2 separate regions of the Homo sapiens genome follow, and region 2 is linked to region 1. Evidence: promoter capture Hi-C in 16 types of primary human blood cells and fetal thymus (Javierre and others, 2016). All regions are on one chromosome and are shown on one strand. The core of a region is centred on a gene start or on the middle of the fragment in contact, and the rest is flanking DNA. Distances in the headings are between cores, read along the strand shown. Region 1 holds the start of PIK3CB (phosphatidylinositol-4,5-bisphosphate 3-kinase catalytic subunit beta). Region 2 overlaps CEP70 (centrosomal protein 70).

What was found. The method cuts DNA at HindIII sites, captures the fragments that hold promoters and counts their contacts. A CHiCAGO score of 5 or more calls a contact.
Region 2: a fragment that was not itself captured here is called in contact with the fragment with the promoter of PIK3CB in region 1 in 1 of 17 cell types (fetal thymus); the score reaches 5.9 in fetal thymus.

Annotation. Positions count from the first base shown.
Region 1 is chr3:138,830,731-138,836,752 of GRCh38, reverse strand. PIK3CB (phosphatidylinositol-4,5-bisphosphate 3-kinase catalytic subunit beta) reads left to right here and starts at 1,825. Exons shown (of 24, transcript NM_006219.3): 1 at 1,825-2,058. RefSeq lists a silencer at 1,589-2,328. The HindIII fragment of the contact is 25,969 bases long and covers 1-6,022 here.
Region 2 is chr3:138,503,795-138,510,117 of GRCh38, reverse strand. CEP70 (centrosomal protein 70) reads left to right here. Exons shown (of 18, transcript NM_024491.4): 12 at 1,574-1,679; 13 at 4,653-4,823. Among named protein-coding and RNA genes, the nearest start is that of ESYT3, 72 kb to the right of the region's middle. The HindIII fragment of the contact is 1,527 bases long and covers 3,436-4,962 here.

The sequences.
Region 1 (6,022 bases), core at 576-3,075:
GCAGTGAGCCGAGATTGTGCCACTGTACTACAGCCTGACGACAGAGCAAGACTCCGTCTCAAAAAAAGAAAAAAAAAATTAGGCGTGTGTGGTGGCGGGTGCCTGTAATCCCAGCTACTCTGGAGGTTGAGGCAAGAGAACTGCTTGAACCTGGGAGGTGGAGGTTGCCATGAGCTGAGATGGTGCCACTGCACTCCAGCCTGGGCAACAGAATGAGACTGTCTCAAAAAAAAATTTTTTTTTCCTCTTAAGTTTCTGTTTTGTAAATTTTTATATTTTTTAATTCTTCTGGATTTTTTTTTTTTTTCCTAGACAGGGTCTTGCTCTATTTCCCGGGCTGGAGTGCAGTGGTGCTACCGTGCTATCTCGACTCACACCAGCCTCGACTTCCCTCGACTTCCTGGGTTCATATTATCCTCCCACCTCAGTCTCCCAAGTAGCTGGGACAACAGATGCACATCACCACACTCACGTCATTTTTGTCAGTCTCGCCATATTGCCCAGGCTAGGTGTGAACTCCTGGGCTCAAGTGATCTGCCCACCTCGGCCTCCCAAAGTGTTGGTATTACAGCCTCTTCTGGAATTTATTTTTCAATGTTCTTGCTTTAAATCGAAAGTCAATTAAAACCAGGATCATTGGCCGGGCACGGTGGCTCATGTCTGTAATCCCAGCCCTTTGGGAGGCCGAGGCGGGCTGATCACCTGAGGTCGGGAGTTCGAGACCAGCCTGACCAACGTGGAGAAACCCCGTCTCTACTAAAAATACAAAATTAGCCAGGCGTGGTGGCGCATGCCTGTAATCCTCAGGAAGGCTGAGGCAGGAGAATCGCTTGACCGGGGGACGCAGAGTTGCGGTGAGCCAAGATCGCGCCATTGCACTCCAGCCTGGGCAACAGTAGCGAAACTCTCATTCAAAATAAGTAAATAAATAAAAAATAAAAAAACTAGGATCATTTCTCAAATAAACTATTGGTTTGTCACTTAATTGATTTGTCACGTTTGCTTTTTATTATGTTGTACTTCTAGATTTTATCCCTGACTACTCAACTATTTGTCCAGGGTAATATAGGAGCATTACGTTAGAATATACTAGCTTTGGAGTGAGTTAAAATGTTGGTTTTCAGTAAGTAAAATTTAAGTGTCCCACTAGAAAGAGGACTGTGATTTTTCGCGGTTGGGGTCAAAGGTAACAGGAAACAAGGTAGGCAAAAAGGGGTAAAGTTTAAGGCTCTGCAGACAAATGTTAGGTGTTGTTACTGCAAAATTGAACAAAGAACAAGAATCTTGGGCTTGAAAGCCTGGACTTTTCCCTAGAAACAACCATTCACAGTGTAGGGACTGAAGGGCCAGCTGTGAGGCAGCCGAGCTAGCGCCCTATCCTCACAAAGGGAGTGAAAGACGGAGACGGGTATCGGGAAAAAAATAAGTGCTGCGTCCAAGAATTTAGGAGTCAGTCCATGTCGCAGAACAGGGAGAAGGGCTGGGAAGAAAAGGCCAGCAAGGAACCTAGGAAGAGCGGAATCTCTCGGGAGGAGGTTATGGAGGCCGCAGCGGGTGATGGGTCTCTCCTGAAGGCGACTTGCCGGGGATTCCCTATTCCGCAGTCCTCTGGGAGTCGCAAAGAGAGTTAGGAAAGGCCGTGCAGCAGCGTCGCAGCCGGGCTGGCAACGGTAGAGGAATCGGCAGTGAGGCCTCTCCCCACACCCTGCCAGCCCAACTGCCGCCGCCGCCGCCGCCGCCACCGCGGGGCCCGGGATTGGCCCGAGGGCGGCGCAGGGCGGGGCGGGGGCTGCTGGGATGCAGGCCTGAGAGGCTGGCGCGCGCGCACACGGGCGCGGGTTCGGCGGCGGCGCGCGCGTGCTCTGTCGGCCTGTGCGGCGCTGCGGCGGAGCGGGCCATGGCAGTGGGGAGGGGGCGAGTGTAGTGCTGCGCGGGGCAGGCGGGAGGTGATCGAGAGAGGCAGGGATGGGGGCGCCGGAGTGGAGCGGTTGCGGCGGCCTGGGCTGCTGACTGCGCACTTGGAATAGTAGCAGGCGGCGGCGGCGGAACGCCAGGCAGGTGAGTGCGGCGGCCGGGACCCGGATGCGGCGCGGCTGAGGGGCGGCTGGGTCGCGGCGCCGGCTGCGGTGCCCCCGGGCGTGCTGGCGGTGCGTTCTAGCTTGCCGCTACCTGCGGCGCTGGCGACTCTTGTGGTTGCACCGCGCTTCCTGCCAGCTTGGAGGATAACCGCCTACCGGCCGGTGGGGGCGTCTGGCTTGGTTGCGGCCCGCCCTGGGCTCTCCAAGGTGAGTGGCGCCCCCCGGCCCCTGGGCGGCAGAGACGCTGCCGGGCGTCCCGGGTCACTGTCGCTTTGGGTCCCGTTCCTGAGGGGCGTTTCTGTGGAGAGACGGCGTACTCGCGCCCCGCGTCTATGCGGACACCTCCGGAACTTCCCGACCCTCAGGTGCCTTTTTGCGCAGAAGTGTATTTCAGAGGCGTGGACCCAGGGTTATTAGGTTATGGACATGTTTTCGAATCCCAACGCCGCTGCTGACCAGTCCTGGGGCCTTGGGCCAAAATATCCTGATGTGTTAAATGGAAATAATAATACATACACCATAAGGTTGTTGTGAGGTTAGGCATAACTGAACAAGTGCTAAGTAAATGATACCCCTGCTGCAGCATCTCGTGTTAGCTATTGCTAATTCCTGGCTGCTGGCGTGCGTTTGGGGGCACATTTATTTCCGATCTGCTCTGGTGTTGCAGTAACCGATACTGGAGTTGCTTAATATTGGAGCCTGTTAACCTCGCAGTGGCCAAAATAGAATCCTATAGTCCCTTACTAGAATCCTGCAGTCTCTTCCCGCAGGGCTGAATTGGAACCCTGTCTCAGGTACTGAGTGGGAATTACTGCTGAAATGAAACCGAGCAAATTCGGGATTCGCTTAGGATGAAAGATGGTGGGACGTAAACTTGAAGTGCTTTGCTGTTTCATCTCAAGTGACACTTGAACTCTGCCACTTGTTACAGAGTTATAAACACACGAAGAGTATGGAAACAGACTCTTTTTTCTGCATTGCTACATCCAAAGGGAGTGACAAGTGCTTTTGTAAACATCATTGTGGGCAGTGTGACTGTCTGGTGAAGTCATGATAATTAAATGAGTACTTATTTTGAAGCACTGAATGGAAGTTTGGAGATATGATTCGTAATAAAATTGTCTCCAACGAGTCAGAGGTCTCAGCAGTTCATTAATCATTTGGGGATTTTTATGCTACATTGTAAGATTTTATGGTAAAAGCAGAACTGTTTAAGTCATAATAATGTAGCACAGGAAAGGGTGGTCAGATAAGGATCTTAACCCAGTTTCAGAATGCAGGTATGGAAGAAAGTAAAGTCTTTTTTCTGACCAGGTGCGTTGGCTCACGCCTGTAATCCCAGCACTTTGGGAGGCCGAGGCGGGCGGATCAATTGATTCCAGGAGTTCGACACCAGCCCAAGCAACATGGTGAAACCCCGTCTCTACCAAAAACACAAAAATTAGCAGGGCGTGGTGGCGGGCGCTTGTAATCCCAGCTACTTGGGAGGCTGAGGCAGGAGAATCCCTTGAACCCGGGAGGCGGAGGTTGCAGTGAGCCGAGATGGCACCACTGGACTCCAGCCTGGGCAACAGAGGGATACCCTGTCTCAAAAAGAAAAAAAAAAAATCTTTTTGAGACCGAATCTTGCTTCTTTTTTAAAAAAAAATTATTGTTGTTTTTTGAGGCAGGGTCTCGGTCTGTCGCCCAGGCTGGAGTGCAATGTCGCCATCTTGGCTCACTGCAACCTCCGCCTCCTGGGTTCAAGCGATCCTCCTGCCTCAGGCTCCCTAGTGGCTGAGACTACAGGGGCGTGCCACCACGCCTGGCCAATCTTTCAATTTTGTTTTTTTTTTTTTTTTTTTGAGACGGAGTTTCGCTTTTGTTGTCCAGGCTGGAGTGCAATGACGCGATCTCCAGCTCACCGCAACCTCCGCCTCCCGGGTTCAAGCGATTCTCCTGCCATAGCCTCCCGAGTAGTTGGGATTACAGGCATGTGCCACCACACGCGGCTAATTTTGTACTTTTTTTGGTAGAGACGGGGTTTCTCCATGTTGGTCAGGGTGGTCTCGGACTCCCAACCTCAGGTATCCGCCCGCCTCGGCCTCCCAAACTGCTGGGATTACAGGAGGAAGCCACCGCGCCCGGCCCAATCTTTGTATTTTTGGTAGAGAGGTGGTTTTGCCATGTTGGCCAGGCTGGTCTTGATCTCCTGGGCTCAAATGATCCGCCAGCCTGGGCCTCCCAAAATGCTGGGATTACAGGCATGAACCACCGCGACCGGCCGAAAGTAAAAATCTTAAAGGTTTAAACTGGAATTGTATTCACTAAAGCCAAAATGACTTAAGAAGCAAAAATCTAATTTACACCCCTGATTCACACCCTGAGTCCACCACCTTCGGAGTGTTTTTTAGAAGTGTTGAAAATCAAGTCGGGTTTTGATTTGTCATTTTGCACCTCTTGCCTATCTTTCTTGGTGTTCTTAAAGACTCATCCATAAAGGCTTTTGCTTCAACTTGCTTTGTGAATGTCAGCCAACTATATGGAAAAAAGTGAAAAATGAACACTGTAGTCTAAATTATGTTCTTTCTTGAGGTTTTCCCAGTTGTCTAGCTTAGACTGTTGAACTCAACAGTAGAACTACTGCTAGCCACTGTGAAAAGGCTGGGAGTCAGAAGTCACCTCTTGGTTTTAGGCCTCAACCTGGGTAAAAACAGCTGGGGCTATGGGGATGTTACCCAGTCTTATGGGCCTCTGTTTTGTTTGTTTGTTTGTTTTGAGATGGAGTCTCTCTCTGTCGCCAGGCTGGAGTGCAATGGCACGATCTCTGCTCACTGTGACCTCCCGGGTTCAAGCGATTCTCCTGCCTCAGCCTCCAAATTAGTTGGGACTACAGGTGCACACCACCATGCCCCGCTAATTTTTGTATTTTTAGTAAACATGGGGTTTCACCATATTGGCCAGGATGGTCTCAGTCTTTTGACCTCGTGTTCCTCCCGCCTTGGCCTCCCAAAGTGCTGGGATTACAGGCGTCAGCCACTGTGCCTGGCCCCAATAAATAAATTATTTATTTTTATTTTTTATTTTGTTTTTATTTATTTACTTATTTAGAGACTGAGTTTTGCCCTTGTTGCCCAGGCTGGAGTGCAATGTGCAATCTTGGCTCACTGCAACCTCCGCCTCCCCGGTTCAAACAATTCTTCTGCCTCAGCCTCCCAAGTAGCTGGGATTACAGGCACCCGCCACCACGCCCAGCTAATTTTTTGTATTTTTAGGGGTTTCTCCATGTTGGCCAGGCTGGTCTTGAACTCCTGACCTCAGGTGATCTGGCCGCCTCGGCCTCCCAAAGTGCTGGGATTACAGGCGTGAGCCACTGCGCCTAGCACTATTTTTAATTTTAATTTAATTTAATTTTATTTTATTTTATTTTATTTATTTGAGACGGAGTCTCACTCTGTTGCCCAGCCTGGAGTTCACACCTCCTGGGTTCACGCCGTTCTCCTGTCTCAGCCTCCCCAGTAGCTGGGACCATAGGTGCCCGCCACCACGCCTGGCTAATTTTTTGTATTTTTTTTTTAGTAGAGACGGGGTTTCACCGTGTTAGTCAGGGCGGTCTTGATCTCCTGACCTCGTGATCCGCCCGCCTTGGCCTCCCAAAGTGCTGGGACTCCAGGCGGGAGCCACCGCGCCTTGCCCCCAATAAATAAATAAAATACTTAACTGAGGAAAGTGAGTTCCTGCTTTATTATTATTATTATTATTATTATTATTATTATTATTATTATTATTATTTTGAGACGGAGTTTCGCTCTGTTGCCCAGGCTAGAGTGCAGTGGTGCGATCTCGGCTTACCGCAAGCTCCGCCTCCCGGGTTCACGCCATTCTCCTGCCTCAGCCTCCCAAGTAGCTGGGACTACAGGCGCCAGCCAACACGCCCGGCTAATTTTTTTGTGTGTTTTTAGTAG
Region 2 (6,323 bases), core at 2,950-5,449, 330 kb after region 1:
AACTAGCCCAGATTTCTTATTCCTTCTTCACAATTTCACAGATAGAATATTCGTTCTCACTGTATATCTTAGCAACCTCAGCATACACTTTTTTTCTTAAGTGGAGAACTTTCACCTTTTCACTTAAAGGACACACTTCATGACTTCTCTTTGGCACATCAAAATTGCTAACATGACTACTCTTGCATTTTGGGTCCATTATTAAGTTAAAGAAGGATTGTTACTTGAACATAAGCACTGTGGTACCCAACAGTTGATCTGATAATCAAGATGGCTACTAAGTGACTAACTGGTAGGTAGTGTATGTATACAGTTACAGCATGGATAAGCTGGACAAAGGGATGAATCACATCCTAGGTGGGATGGAGTGGGACAGCATGAGATTTCATCACACTACTCAGACTAGTGAGCATTAAAAAAAAATAAAATAAAAAAACTTATTTATTACTGGAATTTTCCTTTTAATATTTTTGGACCCTGGTTTACCTTGCATAACTAAAACCATGGAAAATGAAACTACGGATCAGCGTGTACTACTGTACTGTTTTCAAAGCCATGAGGAGGGAGAAGAAAGATTACTACAGCCTGTCTTCTAGATATTTGGAGAAGGACAAGTGTTTACTACTAGGTGGATACACTTATACATAGTTGTATTTCTGGGTGAAGAGACTCTCCTTTCCCCTAGCATTCTAGTAGCCACCTGGAATAATGGTCTGTTGGATCTCCACGCCCTCTTGACTGGCCCAGGCATTGCCATTTTCTGTTCTTTGCCACTGGTAGAATACAAAGAGAGAGGGACCAAACGTCTAGCTGTTCCTGCTACAGTACCCAAACCAGTGGCCCTTCCCATGCTTCCTGCTCCCTTTATCTGTAGTCTGTGATCTTGGAGCACGTTGGATGGAAGTCGCTTCCATCCTTTGTTGTATTTCTCTCTTGTGCTGTCTTTTGTGGGTGCTGGGGGGTGGTTAGAACTTTCTTCTTCAATCTGATCTCTTCTGTCTTCAGAGATTCCTTCTAATTTGCGATTTATTGAGAGGGCCTTCTAGTTTTCCAGTGACAATATGATTTAAAAAATTTTAAACTCTGGCCGGGCACGGTGGCTCACGCCTGTAATCCCAACACTTTGGGAGGCTGAGGTGGGTGGATCACGAGGTCAGGAGATCGAGACCATCCTGGTTAACACGGTGAAACCCCGTCTCTACTAAAAATATAAAAAATTAGCCAGGCATGGTGGCGGGCGCCTGTAGTCCCAGCTACTCAGGAGGCTGAGGCAGGAGAATGGTGTGAACCCGGGAGACGGAGCTTGCAGTGAGCCGAGATTGCGCCACTGCACTCCAGCCTGGGTGATAGAGCGAGATTCTGTCTCAAAAAAAAAAAAAAATTTTTTTTAACTCTATATATGCATATATGTATGTGTTTATACATACACATACATACATGTGTGCACACACACATATAAGTAAAGTGATATAAGGCTGTTGGGAGGGTGGCTGGATCATTGACTTAGTTTATCATCTTGGTCCAGTGTCTAGGAAGTAATTTTGTATTATCTTGATTTTTTTCCCCCTTTTAGATTACAGGAGCTTATTAATCATAAGAAGGCTGAGGACACAGAGAAGAAAGATGAGCCCAGCAAATATAATCAGCAACAGGCCCTAATTGACCAGAGATACTTTCAGGTATTGAATTGATTTTTCATGACAAAAAGACTGATGTTTGTCATGAATCTTGGTTATCAGTTGTGGTGTAATAAATTATCAGTTGGTAAGGAATACTTGCACCTCATATTTATGTGTACTTATTCTGTCTTGTCTTTCCGTGACATAACTATTTGACTAAAAACATTGTAGAATTCGTCTTACTACTTAAAAGAGACTCTGGCCTAGTTCAAAGGAGGTTAGTAAAGAGCTTTATGATTTTTAAAAGTTTCTATAATCCTTTTCCCTACTTTCCCCATGTAAGCCATTTTCCCTCGTATTGTTTCTGTTGTTACCATTATTATTAAGTAAATCTATTTTCTTAGGGTCCTTGTATGGCTTTTGTTTTTGTTTAGAGACCTTAGTTCATCTGAAATTTAATTTTCTATATGGTGTGATATAGGGAATCTCACCTTCCTAGTTTTATAGATCATTTATTGAATAGCTGAGCAGTTAAACCTGGTAGTTTAGTGACTGAACTGGACTTTCACTCACATTTTATTGGGTACACATAAGATTTTTAAGTTTTAGATTATTCATTTTTTTAAAAATTAAGATATTTTATTTTTTCTAGGCTGCTATTTCTAACTTCTCCTAAAAAGTCAGAAGATCTGGCAACAAATTCCTGCATGGTTATTATCACAGCAGAATTAGGCCTTTCCCTTGTCAGATATGAGCATGTGTTCTATAGTTAGCAGTCCCTATTCATCCTTACGTCACTCATTTATACTCGTACCTGAATTCTCTGGGCATTTGTGTTTGCAGTCTCTAATACGCTACTTTTTTCTCTACTTTATTGAAATAACATTTTATCATAGATCATATTCATTTATATGCACAGATTTGTTTTTAGATTCTCTAGTCTGTTGCATTTCTCAACTATTTCCATATTTTAATTTCTATAGTTAAAAGTTTTAATAGCCTTTGAGGCAAGTATCCTATCATTAAAAAAATTTTTTTTATTGGCTATATTTTTAGCACATTTATTCTTCTGGATGAACAGTTTTTCAAATTAAAAAATAAATCTCATTGAGATGAACTAAAATTGAATTGACTTTATAGATTAATATTTGGAGAAATGACACCTTAACCTTTTTGAATCATCACATTCAGAAATATGTACTTTCATCAGGGTCATCTTTTATAGTCTTCAATAAAGTGTTGTGTATTTTTAAATTTAGCTCTTGCATATTTCTTGTTAGGAAATACCTTGTTATTTCCTAGGTATTTTATAACTTTTATTGCTATTGTAAATGGGAACCAAGCACCTTTCTGAAAACTGTTTTGTTTTAGACTTTCTTGTACCAGTATATAACTGGATTTCATTTTGTTTCTGAGACTCAATTTGAGAGGCTTTGTCCTTTAAAAGGGGAATTCAAGCCGGGTATGGTGGCTCATGCCTGTAATCTTAACACTTTGGGTGACCGAGGCAGGAGGATTGCTAGAGGGCAGGAGTTTGAGACCAGCCTGGGCAATATAGTGAGACCACATCTCTAGAAAAAAAAAAATTTAATTAGCTGGGCATGGTGGCTTGTGCCTGTAGTCCTAGCACTTGAGAGGTTGACATGGGAAGATCACTTGAGCCCAGGAATTCAACGCTGCAGTGAGCTCCGTTCACACCACTGCACTCCATCTTAGGCTGCAGAGTGAGACTCTGTCAAATAAATATATAAAACAAATATACATACATCAATTTGAAGTGAAATATTGAATTATACTAATTTGGACTTAAAAAGCTTCTAAATAAACATCTGAAGTAATAAACATCTTAAGTCATATTACCAGGAGGCCTATTAGTTATATCTTGAAGTATGACCAGGGACAAAGATTCAAGAGCAAAATGCTATCTTTATATTGTGAAACTTTTTATTAAATAGGCTGAACTTGATGGTGGTAATAGGAAATGGCTTTATTCTTCTCTCTTTAAACATGCTTTTTGAGGTCTCCCTTTTTTTCCTCGGATGATATGTAAGGTAGAACCCATCACTTATGGGGAGAGGGTTATAGTCAAATAGTATACTATCTTAATATATTAAGATACCTAAAATTCAATCCAGGCATCAATGATATTATTTTTGGAGACAGGGTCTTGCTCTGTTGCCCAGGCTGAAGTGCATTATCATAGCTCACTGCAGCCTTGAATTCCTGGGCTCAAGTGATCCTCCTGCCTCAACCTCCCAAAGTGCTGGGATTACAGGCATGAGCCACCACACTCAGCCTGGGGATTGCTGTTAATTTCCTTAAATAGTCTGATAATGTTCTTGTGAGTTTGTAGGAGAATATGCCTACTTTTAAAAGATGCATGCTTTATTATTTGAGGGTGAAGAGTTTCTTCAAATGGTTCACCTAAAAATATAGATAGTGAGCAAATATGGCAAAATACTAACAATTTTTGAACCTAGGTAGTGTTTGTAATAGTTAATTTTGTTTCAACTTTACTGCGGCATAGGATGCCCGATATTTGGTTAAACATTATTCTGGATGTGTCTGGGAAGGTGCTTCTGGATGAGATTGACATCCGAATCAGTAGACTTTAGTAAATCAGACTGCCTTTCCTAATGGGGTGGGCCTCATCCAATGATTCAAAGCCCTGAGTAGAACAAAAGGCTGAATAAGAGGGAGCTCCTCCTCCCTGACTGCTTTCAAGATGGGACACTGGTTTTTTTCTTGCCTTCAGACTCAAACTGAAACATTAGCACTTGCAGGGGTCTCAGTCTGCCTGCATTTGGACTGCAAATACCCATTACCTTTTCTGGGTCTTCGCTTACTCACTGCAGATCTTGGGACTTGTCAGTCTTCATAATTGCATGAGCCAATTCCTTATGATAATTTTCTTTGTATATTTAATGAAATATGTGTATATAATATATATAGACATAAAGCACTCCTTTAAAATATATAACTTTGTAGGCATAGGATAAATATTTTGACTATATACACTATGTTTTTTTAAAGGTGCTGTGTAGCATCAATTCAATTATCCACAATCCAAGAGCTCCAGTAATAATTTATAAACAGACCAAAGGGGGAGTCCAAAATTTTAATAAAGATCTTGTTCAAGATTGTGGATTTGAGCATCTTGTTCCTGTAATAGAAATGTGGGCAGATCAACTGACATCCTTAAAGGTAAGGGGTTGACTATGATTATATGCTTTGAACATCTATTGGACTCTATGTGCTTTATTAATAGGACTTAATTCAGGGCTAAAAATTAAATAGGGTTTAATTTTTTTGTTTGTGTGTTAACTCTAAAGCTAAAAAAGCTTATTATCTAAAACCGAAATCTTCCTACTTACATATCTATTTTAGGTACTGTCTATTTGATGTTGTCATTACTGTAAGCTTTACCTCCTCTAAGATTCTACCAAACAAGAAATTTTGGGGTTAGTTTCCTTATTGAAAATCTATAGTGGATCCACTTTGTACTTCTAGGCCCTTCCCTGTTCTACCTTCATCTGCCTCCTTTTCATATCTCCATGCTGCGATTTTCCTGGCCCTTATCCCTCTTCAGATATAATGTCTTATCCTTCATTTTATTATAATTGGGGATATTTTCTCTCTCTTCACACTTTATTTTCTGTCTCTCAGAACTGAGCTTATCTCCATTTCTGCTTATTCTCTAGAACAGATAGTAAGCTAGCAGCCAACGCTACCCTTCCCTATCCTATCTCTTCATGGAAGACCACATTTTATTTATAGAGTTATTGTGTATTTATTGCATAGCTTCAGGTTTTTTCAGTTTTTGTTAACTAGTTTGCTGAAAGGTAAATAGTTGAAATCAGTAGTATTTAACTTCTTTGCCCTTTACACTTTAGATTTATTAGTAACTAATATAATACATAGCATATGCCTGTTAATGAAAATGTGATTCAATAACAGTGTTTGCAACATAAGTCTTATTACATGAAGTACAAATGATGCAGAAGATATCTGTTAAGAATGTATAAGCTCCATGAAGACAGTGTTTTTATTTGTTCTGATATGTCCCCAAGATCCTCCTGATGAATGAGTGCTCAATTAATATTTGTTAAAAGGAATGAAGCAGAATATTATATTCCAAGACAACAAAATTGGGGGTGGTGATGTTAATTTTTTTTAAATTTCGACTTCCCTTTTTATATAGGGCTCAGACAGAGCTATACAATACATAAACATTTTGATTGAGTGACAGTGCTAGATTAATATACTTACTTTATAGACCGGAGTTCCTCCAGTCTGTATCTCAGAAGAGTGTAAAATAATTAGTAATAGTGTAAATCATGGTATTTCCTCAATCACTGCCTGTCAGAGGGTTCTCCCAGTAGGAGGAAACAGTGCTGACTCCACCTTTCTTCATCTCAGAAGGGATGGACTAGAAAAAGCCCTAGCCTTCCTAGAAGAAAAGACTAGAAGAGGAAGAAGACAAAGGGAAGAATCACACTAATGGATAGTTATTGATCGTTTATCATGCTAAGCCATTATGGGATGAACACAAGATTCAGACTAATTAGACAAAATATACTAAAAAATATGAAACAAAATGTAATCATTTATATCGTTAAAGGAAATGAGTGACATAAAAATAGATTACCGGTTGAAGTTCTGAGTGAATGATGCAGATAACTTGTGCTCTAGAGTCTGGAGGAG